Linked DNA regions of Homo sapiens: region 2 is linked to region 1. Evidence: promoter capture Hi-C in human tissues and cell types (Jung and others, 2019). All regions are on one chromosome and are shown on one strand. The core of a region is centred on a gene start or on the middle of the fragment in contact, and the rest is flanking DNA. Distances in the headings are between cores, read along the strand shown. Region 1 holds the start of OPN1SW (opsin 1, short wave sensitive). Region 2 has its middle 45 kb from the start of LINC01000.

Region 1 (4,212 bases), core at 492-2,991:
GTGGGTAACAGTCAAAATCTGCTTAGCTCTTTCAGACCTCCAGTGGTTGTCTTTTACTGGGCTCTTGGAAATTCCTCCATCCACAGTTCAGCAGTCAGCCTATGATTTGAGGGGAGTTTATATGCAGATTTAAAGACTTTGCCTTCTGTGGCTTCTTTCATTCCAGGAAATCCACCTTCAGCTGTTCTGGAGTCCCAAACTGTCCTCTGTCTCCTGTCCTCTGTCCTCTGACTCTTCAAGCCAAAAAAGGCTGGGGCTTTCTGCTCAAGTTCTAGCTATCCTGTGCCATTTATACTCGGGAGTACACTCAGGGAAAAAAAAAAACAACAATGTAGATGGTTCTTTTCATTGAAGAGTTGAGTTCCTTTCAGTTTCTGCCTGCTTTGGATACTTTAGGTGTTTTCAAAAAGTTGTTTTTCATATTGTGTCCAGTTTACAATTTTTTTGCCTAAGGGGGCATTCATCTAATAAACTATTCTGCCATTACTGGACCATCCTTTCACTTTTAAACTTACTTATACCTAAAGTGTGTCACTTTTAACTCATCTATATATATAGTCTCGCTCTGTCCCACAGGCTGGAGTGCAGTGGCGTGATCTCGGCTCACTGCAGGCTCCGCCTCCCGGGTTCACGCCATTCTCCTGCCTCAGCCTCCCAAGTAGCTGGGACTACAGGCGCCCACCACCACACCCAGCTAATTTTTTGTATTTTTAGTAGAGACGGGGTTTCACCGTTAGCCAGGATGGTCTCGATCTCCTGACCTTGTGATCCACCCATCTCAGCCTCCCAAAGTGCTGGGATTACAGGCTTGAGCCACCACGCCCGGCCAACTCATCTATATATTTATGATCTGCTGAGGTGGAAAAGATTCATTCATAAAGCCTAAAGTGTAGTACTGAGTACAAGTGCAGGTGGAACTTAAAGCAGAGTTGGTGTCACTGGGGTGGGCTGCACAGAAGAGGTGTTTGTGAGGTAGGCTGTGAGGGCTAGATAAGACTTCAATGAACAGACAGGAGGAAGACTGTGGCGACTTGTTGAGCTAAGGGTAGGGGTAGGCATGAACATGGCGTAAGGACAGTGAACAGACCCACCTCCCTGGCTGGAGGTCTGAGTAGGAAAGGCACACTCTTTGAGTAGATTCAACACAAAGAAATGGAGGCAGCCTGGCTCAGGGATGCCCTAGACCTCTAGGCATTGTCAAGTTGCCTAAGTCCTGTTCCATCAAGGCTGTTTACTGATGTGCTTCCAGGGCACTCCCCACTCCCAGCCCTTTCCTGCAGCCCAGGGCTGGTTCCTAGCCTCTCAGCAGACTTAAGATGGGCACCTTCCACAAAGGGGCAGATGAGTTGAGGAAAACTTAACTGATACAGTTGTGCCAGAAGCCAAAATAAGAGGCGTGCCCTTTCTATAGCCCCATTAAAAGAACAAAAAAGTGGAAGCATCTTCAGTGAATATGGGTCAGCACCTCCCAGACCTCAGGGAGTCCACTTCTGTTCATCCCAGCACCCAGCATTGCATATCCAGATTATTTGAGCCCAATCTCTTATCCTCTGAAGAACACAATCGGCTTTGGGGCCACAAAAGGTTTAGGTAGTGGTTTAGGGATTTCTAATCCCAAACTTTGTCCTTGGGAGGTTTAGGATTAGTATTGATCATTCACAGAGCCCAAGTGTTTTTAGAGGAGGGGTTTTGTGGGGTGGGAGGATCACCTATAAGAGGACTCAGAGGGGGGTGTGGGGCATCCATGAGAAAAATGTCGGAGGAAGAGTTTTATCTGTTCAAAAATATCTCTTCAGTGGGGCCGTGGGATGGGCCTCAGTACCACATTGCCCCTGTCTGGGCCTTCTACCTCCAGGCAGCTTTCATGGGCACTGTCTTCCTTATAGGGTTCCCACTCAATGCCATGGTGCTGGTGGCCACACTGCGCTACAAAAAGTTGCGGCAGCCCCTCAACTACATTCTGGTCAACGTGTCCTTCGGAGGCTTCCTCCTCTGCATCTTCTCTGTCTTCCCTGTCTTCGTCGCCAGCTGTAACGGATACTTCGTCTTCGGTCGCCATGTTTGTGCTTTGGAGGGCTTCCTGGGCACTGTAGCAGGTACTGCAGGGGAAAAAGGGGTTAGGGGAAGGCAAAGGTTGCTACTCCACTGGAGGGGGTTCCTAAAGAGGAGTCTGGGGGAAATGAGTCTGGTGCTTTTTAAAATACTGGGGTACAAAGCAACCCAGACTAGAAGTTTGGCTAAAATAGGATGTTTGAGTCTTCACTCCAAATGTCAGTCCAGCCCTGTCTCTCTGTGCTTGCTCCACCCGATCTGTTTGCCACTCTGCCAGCCAGGCTGGGTGGGGCTCTGTCTAGCCCATTATCCTCACATTTCACCACAGGTCTGGTTACAGGATGGTCACTGGCCTTCCTGGCCTTTGAGCGCTACATTGTCATCTGTAAGCCCTTCGGCAACTTCCGCTTCAGCTCCAAGCATGCACTGACGGTGGTCCTGGCTACCTGGACCATTGGTATTGGCGTCTCCATCCCACCCTTCTTTGGCTGGAGCCGGTGAGAGTGCAGGGCAGTGGTGCTGAGTTAACTAGGAGCTCAGGTTGATGTGGGTGGAAAGAGAGCTTGGGTATAACTATTTAGTCTTTGACCTCTACTTTTAAAGAGTTGCAATATGAGGCGAAAGGGCAGTGGGAGACAAGTGCTAACGTTTACTCTGCAGTTGGAATTGCTGTAGCTTCTCCCAGTCAGGACAGAAAACCCCCCTGCTTGAAGCCTTAGGGCATTCCGTGGGTTCTAAGTGGAGAACACAATCCAGGCATCTCAGCTCCCACTGCACTCTTGTGGAGAGTCCAGTGAGCAAGTGTTTGGTCCTTTGCAGGTTCATCCCTGAGGGCCTGCAGTGTTCCTGTGGCCCTGACTGGTACACCGTGGGCACCAAATACCGCAGCGAGTCCTATACGTGGTTCCTCTTCATCTTCTGCTTCATTGTGCCTCTCTCCCTCATCTGCTTCTCCTACACTCAGCTGCTGAGGGCCCTGAAAGCTGTGAGTGGCATTTGATAGTCAGGGAAGAAGGGGTTCGGGGCTCCACATGAGAAGGAAGAGTGCTCTGAAACATAAGATGCCTGGAAATGTCCATAGCCAGAGAGGGTATCTAAAAGCAGCAAAGGAAGTAGGAGGAGGGAGAATGATGGAGATCCAAAGGAACTAGGCCAGGAGATGGGACAGAAAAGAGGCAATCAGAGTGGATGCCCCCTCCCCCATCCCACAGAAAAGCATCCAGAGACCGGGCGCAGTGGCTCACGCCTATAATCCCAGCACTTTGGGAGGCCGAAGCAGACGGATCACCTGAGGTCAATAGTTCCAGACCAGCCTGGCCTACATGGCAAAATGCTAAAATGCGAAAATTAGCTGGGCATGGTGGTGTGTGCTTGTAACCCCAGCTACTCAGGAGGCTGAGACAAAAGAATCACTTGAACCCGGGAGGTGGAGGTTCAGTGAGCCGAGACTGCACCACTGCAACTCCAGCCTGGGCAACAGAGCGAGACTCGGTCTCAAAAAGAAAATTAAAAATTAAAAATTAAAAAAAAAAAAAAAAAGCATCCAGAGGGCCAGGAAAAAGAGAGATGTGATGCTTTCCGTGCTCCACCCCAGGTTGCAGCTCAGCAGCAGGAGTCAGCTACGACCCAGAAGGCTGAACGGGAGGTGAGCCGCATGGTGGTTGTGATGGTAGGATCCTTCTGTGTCTGCTACGTGCCCTACGCGGCCTTCGCCATGTACATGGTCAACAACCGTAACCATGGGCTGGACTTACGGCTTGTCACCATTCCTTCATTCTTCTCCAAGAGTGCTTGCATCTACAATCCCATCATCTACTGCTTCATGAATAAGCAGGTAAAGCTCTTTATTCACATTCCTATGGTCCAGAAGACCCTGGTTCTTTTCTCACCATTGACTTTTAACTCAGAGCACCCTGGACTCTACCCAGGTTTCTAGTAGACGAGGGAAGCCACAAAACCCCCGAGTAGGTTGGGAAGCCTTTGGTAAGCACAGGGAGGAAGGCACGGTTATCAAGACGAGAAAATAGAACCCCGGAGGAAAGAACTTGAGTCAGGAAAATGAAGTTGCTCCAAAGAACAGGATGAATGAAAGCATTTTATTGAAAAACTCGTGCAGCAAACCACCATGGCACACGTTTACCTATGTAACAAACCTGCACA
Region 2 (4,212 bases), core at 1,128-3,627, 180 kb after region 1:
TATTTAGAGATAGGAGGTCAAGATTTCTGAATTGTATTTTAAAATACTTTGGCATAAAAAAAGGAAACTACCTTTTTAAAAAATCAAGTTTTGAAGAACATCTGCATAATGTTAAAAGACACAAGTTTTAAGGAAACAACAGACTTGCCATTAAGGGAAAAAAAGATCCAGTAGACCTTGACGACTAGAACTGTTACAATCTAAACTAATTCAATGTCTCTTTTCTTTTCAGTGAGTCCAATAAAATCATTTGGTTTTGCAATGCCCAACAATGAAACAATCATAATATTGTACATGTTCCTTGTTTTCAAGTCTTAGAATAATTTACAAAGCAGAAAAGACTCAATTGTAGTTAAAATAACAAACTAAATATCAAACACTCATACTGTAACAATAACTAAACAACTGAAAAAGAAAGAAAGACTGGGTGAAAGTTATGTTAAATTTGTCCTTCACAACAAGGAGTAAATAGATCTTACTTAAAGTTGATTAAATAAGGCCAGGTACAGTGGCTCAAGCCTGTAATCCCCACACTTTGAGAGGCCAAGGCAGGAGGATGGTTCAAGACCAGCCTAGGCAACACAGTGGGACCCTGTCTCCACCAACAAACAAATCAATCAATAAATAAGATTAAATAAGGAACACATTATTTGACATTAAAATGGTAATCCTTAGAAAATCCAAAACACAAACTGTTAACAGTAGTTATCTCTCTGAGAAATCCAAGGGAAGAATTTTACTCTTCTCCATCTCCTCAATTTCTTGCGGGTCACGTACATGTTCTATTTTCATAATTTAGGAAACTATTTGCTTATGATTTTCCCTGACAACATTCTCACCAATAGAAGAGGAAATGACCTTTTTCTAATCCCTCTACATCTCCCTTCTTCCTGGATCTTTATGTATGTTGTAATGTCATAAAGTTAAAAGTGAGAGGTCAGCTCAGATATCTTATTCTCTAGCCTGATATATATTGTCTTTGTACAAACAGATAGTCTTCATACTGGGAGCTAGTGTGGTGGTATAGAATGAGCACTAGACTGTGAGGCCAAATACTAATTTTTTTTTTCTTTGAGACTGAGTCTCACTTTGTCACCCAGGCTGGAGTGCAGTGGTGCAATCTCTAGTTGCAGCTACTGTGGTGCAATCTCTAGTTGCAGCTACTCTGGAAACTGAGGCAAGAGAATTGCTTGAACCCAGAAGTTCCAAGGCTATAGTATGCTATAATGCTATGATTGCACCTGTGAATAGCCACCGTACCCCAGCCTGGGCAACATAGCGAGACCTCTCTCTTAAAAATAAAACCTCAAATTTCCTATGTTAAAACACACAATTATGTAATAATTTTAAACATTTAAAAGATCAAATTCTTAATATTCTGCCACCTATTTTTATCAACACATATTTAGAAACCTTTCATTGGTGTATATACAGCTACCTCACTTCTTTTGTCAGCTGTATAGCATTCCACTGTACAAATGTATTAGAATTCATTTAACCAGTCCCTCTATAAAGAATGCTTTTACTAACTCATGCAACATATAATTACACTGAGTGTCTATTAGAGCAGGTCCCGTTCTGGGCATTGCAGATACACAAGTGAACAAAGTAAAGTCCTTGACCTGATGGAGCTTACATTCCAGTGGGGGGAAGTCAGACAAAAGTCCATCATAGTACGTCAGCTGGTGTAGACTAAGGAGAAAAACAACGCAGGGCCTAGGAGCTCAATAACAGGTGGGGTGGGTGGGGAGAAGTTGCTATTTTATAGTGTAGCCAAGGTAGGCCTCTCTCATAGAGTAAATATAAGCAGAAACCAGAGGGAACTGAGAGAGCGGGGCATGATGATATATGGGTGAAGAATGTTAGGGCAAAGGCAACAGCCAACGCAAAGGCCCCGAGGTGAGAGCATCACTGAGAGAGAGTATTTGAGAAAACAAGGTGGCTAGCGTGCATGGAATCTGATGAGAAAGGGAGATAGTAGTAAAACATGTCAGGGTGGAGGAAAACAAACCATGCAGGGCCACTTTAAGGACTTTTCGACAGGGGAGTGGCATGACTGGACTTATGCTTCAACACAATCACTCTGCTTTGTTAAGAACAGATTAAAAGAAAACAAAGGTCAAAGCAATGGGTCCAGTTATCTCAGTGGGAGACAATGGTTTAAGTTGGAGTGGCAGCAGTGAAGAGAATTAGAAGTGGTAAAATTCTGAACATAGGCCAGATGCAGTGGCTCATGCCTGTAATCCCAGCACTTTGGGAGGCCAAGGCGGGTGGATCACCTGAGGTTAGGAGTTCAAGACCAGCCTGGCCAACATGGTGAAACCCTATCTCTACTAAAAATACAAAAATCAGCTGGGTATGGTGGTACGTGCCTGTAATCCCAGTTACTTGGGAGGCTGAGGCAGGAGAACCGGCTTGAACCTGGGAGGTGGAAGTTGCAGTGAGCCCAGATTGCACCACTGCACTCCAGCCTGGGTAACAAAGCAAGACTCTATCTCAAAAAAAAAAAAAAAAAAAAAAATTCTGAACATATTTTGAAGGTAAAATCAATAAGCTTTACTGATAGATTTGGATTTAGCATATAATATAAAAAGAAGAGAAAGACAAGAATGACTCCAAGGATTTTAGCTGTAAAAATTAGAAGGAGAAAAGTTGACAGTTATTGAGATGTAGAAGGCTGTGGAGGTCAGGCACGGTGGCCCACATCTAAAATCCCAGCACTTTGGTAGGTCAAAGTGGGAGGATTACTTGAGTTCAGGTGTTCAAGAACAGCCTAGGTAATACACTAATACTCTGTCTCTATTTAAAAAAAAAAAAAAGAAAGAAAGAAGAAAGGTGAAAGAAGAAGAAGAGGAAGAGGAGGAGAAGGAGGAGGAGGAGGAGGAGGAGGAGAAAGGCGGCCGTAGGAGAAATGGGTTTCGGGTGGGGAACAGAAGGAAGAGTTCAGTTTTGAACATGTTACATTTGATATGTTTGTTAGACATAAAAAGGAAATGACTGGAGGCAACTGACACAGGCCTGAAATTCAGGGCAGAGCTCTGGGCTGGACGCATAAACTTGGAAATCCTCTGCACATAGGAGTTAAGTTTTAGTAACAAAGGAACTAGATGAGATTAAGAAGGCTGGGTGTGGTGGCTCCCGTCTGTAATCCCAGAACTTTGGGGGAGGCCGAGGCGGGAGGACCACTTGAGGTCAGGAGTTTGAGACCAGCCTGGCCAACATGGCAATACTCTGTCTCTACTAAAAAATCAGCCAGGCGTGGTAGCAGACGCCTGTACTCCCAGCTACTTGGGAGGCTGAGGTGGGGAAATCGCTTGAGCCCAGGAGATGGAGGTTGGAGTGAGCTGAGATTGCACCACTGCACTCCAGCCTGGGCAACAGAGTGAGACCCTGTCTCAATTGAAAAAAAAAAAAAAAAAAAGAGAGAGAGAGGGAGGTTAAGAAGAAAATGAAGGTAGATAAATGAATCTGAAGACAGAGCCCTGGAACACTCTAATGTTCAGAGATAGAGGATGTGAGGAAAAATCAAGAGTGGAAGCCGAGTGAAGACCGTATGCTTAGAGAAGAAAGAAGTGATCAACAGTCGCTAATGAATTACGTCAGATGAGTTCTGATGCGAAGGTCATATCCTCTGAAATACTGGAAGGGAAACTGCTTCCAGATTTTTTGCAACGATAAACAATACCTCAATAAATATCTTTGTGTAATTTTATGGGAATGGAATTTCTGGACCCAAGGATATGTAAACTTAACATTGAGATACATTACCAAGTTGTCCACATGACTTCAACAATTTATAGACAGAATAAAACTGAATGTATCTCTAAACTATCACCTACACCAAGAACTATCAAACTTATTAATCCTTGCCAATTTGCTAGGTCAAAAATGTTATCTTGTTTTATTTTGCACTTCTCTATGGCCAAAATTGAGTGGTATTTCATGTTATTAGCCGCTTGCCTTCTTTTCAAAAACAGTCTTTGCCTACTTTTCTAGGAATCTGCTTTCCTTTGCTGATTTACACTTGTATATTAATACTAACCCTTTTCCTATTTTCTTTCCTTATACTACTAAGCTTATATGCTGGCTGGTACTGCTGAGAAGCAAAGAGAAACAAAACTGTACCAGAGCATTCAGACTTTTGGTTTTCATACTGTTTCCATGTTCCTTCTTCATACATGATCATTTTGTTACTCGTCTCTGCCACCTCTT

Evidence for each region. Contacts are between HindIII fragments. The study calls those that stand out against the background at their distance.
Region 2: a fragment that was not itself captured here is called in contact with the fragment with the promoter of OPN1SW in region 1 in 3 of the 25 tissues and cell types used here (adrenal gland, dorsolateral prefrontal cortex and stomach).

What each region holds. Positions count from the first base shown.
Region 1 is chr7:128,773,323-128,777,534 of GRCh38, reverse strand. OPN1SW (opsin 1, short wave sensitive) reads left to right here and starts at 1,741. Exons shown (of 5, transcript NM_001385125.1): 1 at 1,741-2,096; 2 at 2,381-2,549; 3 at 2,872-3,037; 4 at 3,647-3,886. The coding sequence starts at 1,754. It overlaps CALU (calumenin), which reads right to left. Exons shown (of 7, transcript NM_001219.5): 7 at 4,135-4,212. RefSeq lists cis regulatory regions at 1,275-1,744, 645-1,744, 1-1,744, 1-1,744, 753-1,747 and 1 more. The HindIII fragment of the contact is 13,114 bases long and covers 1-4,212 here.
Region 2 is chr7:128,594,364-128,598,575 of GRCh38, reverse strand. No RefSeq gene overlaps it. Among named protein-coding and RNA genes, the nearest start is that of LINC01000, 45 kb to the left of the region's middle. RefSeq lists a silencer at 147-310. The HindIII fragment of the contact is 6,994 bases long and covers 1-4,212 here.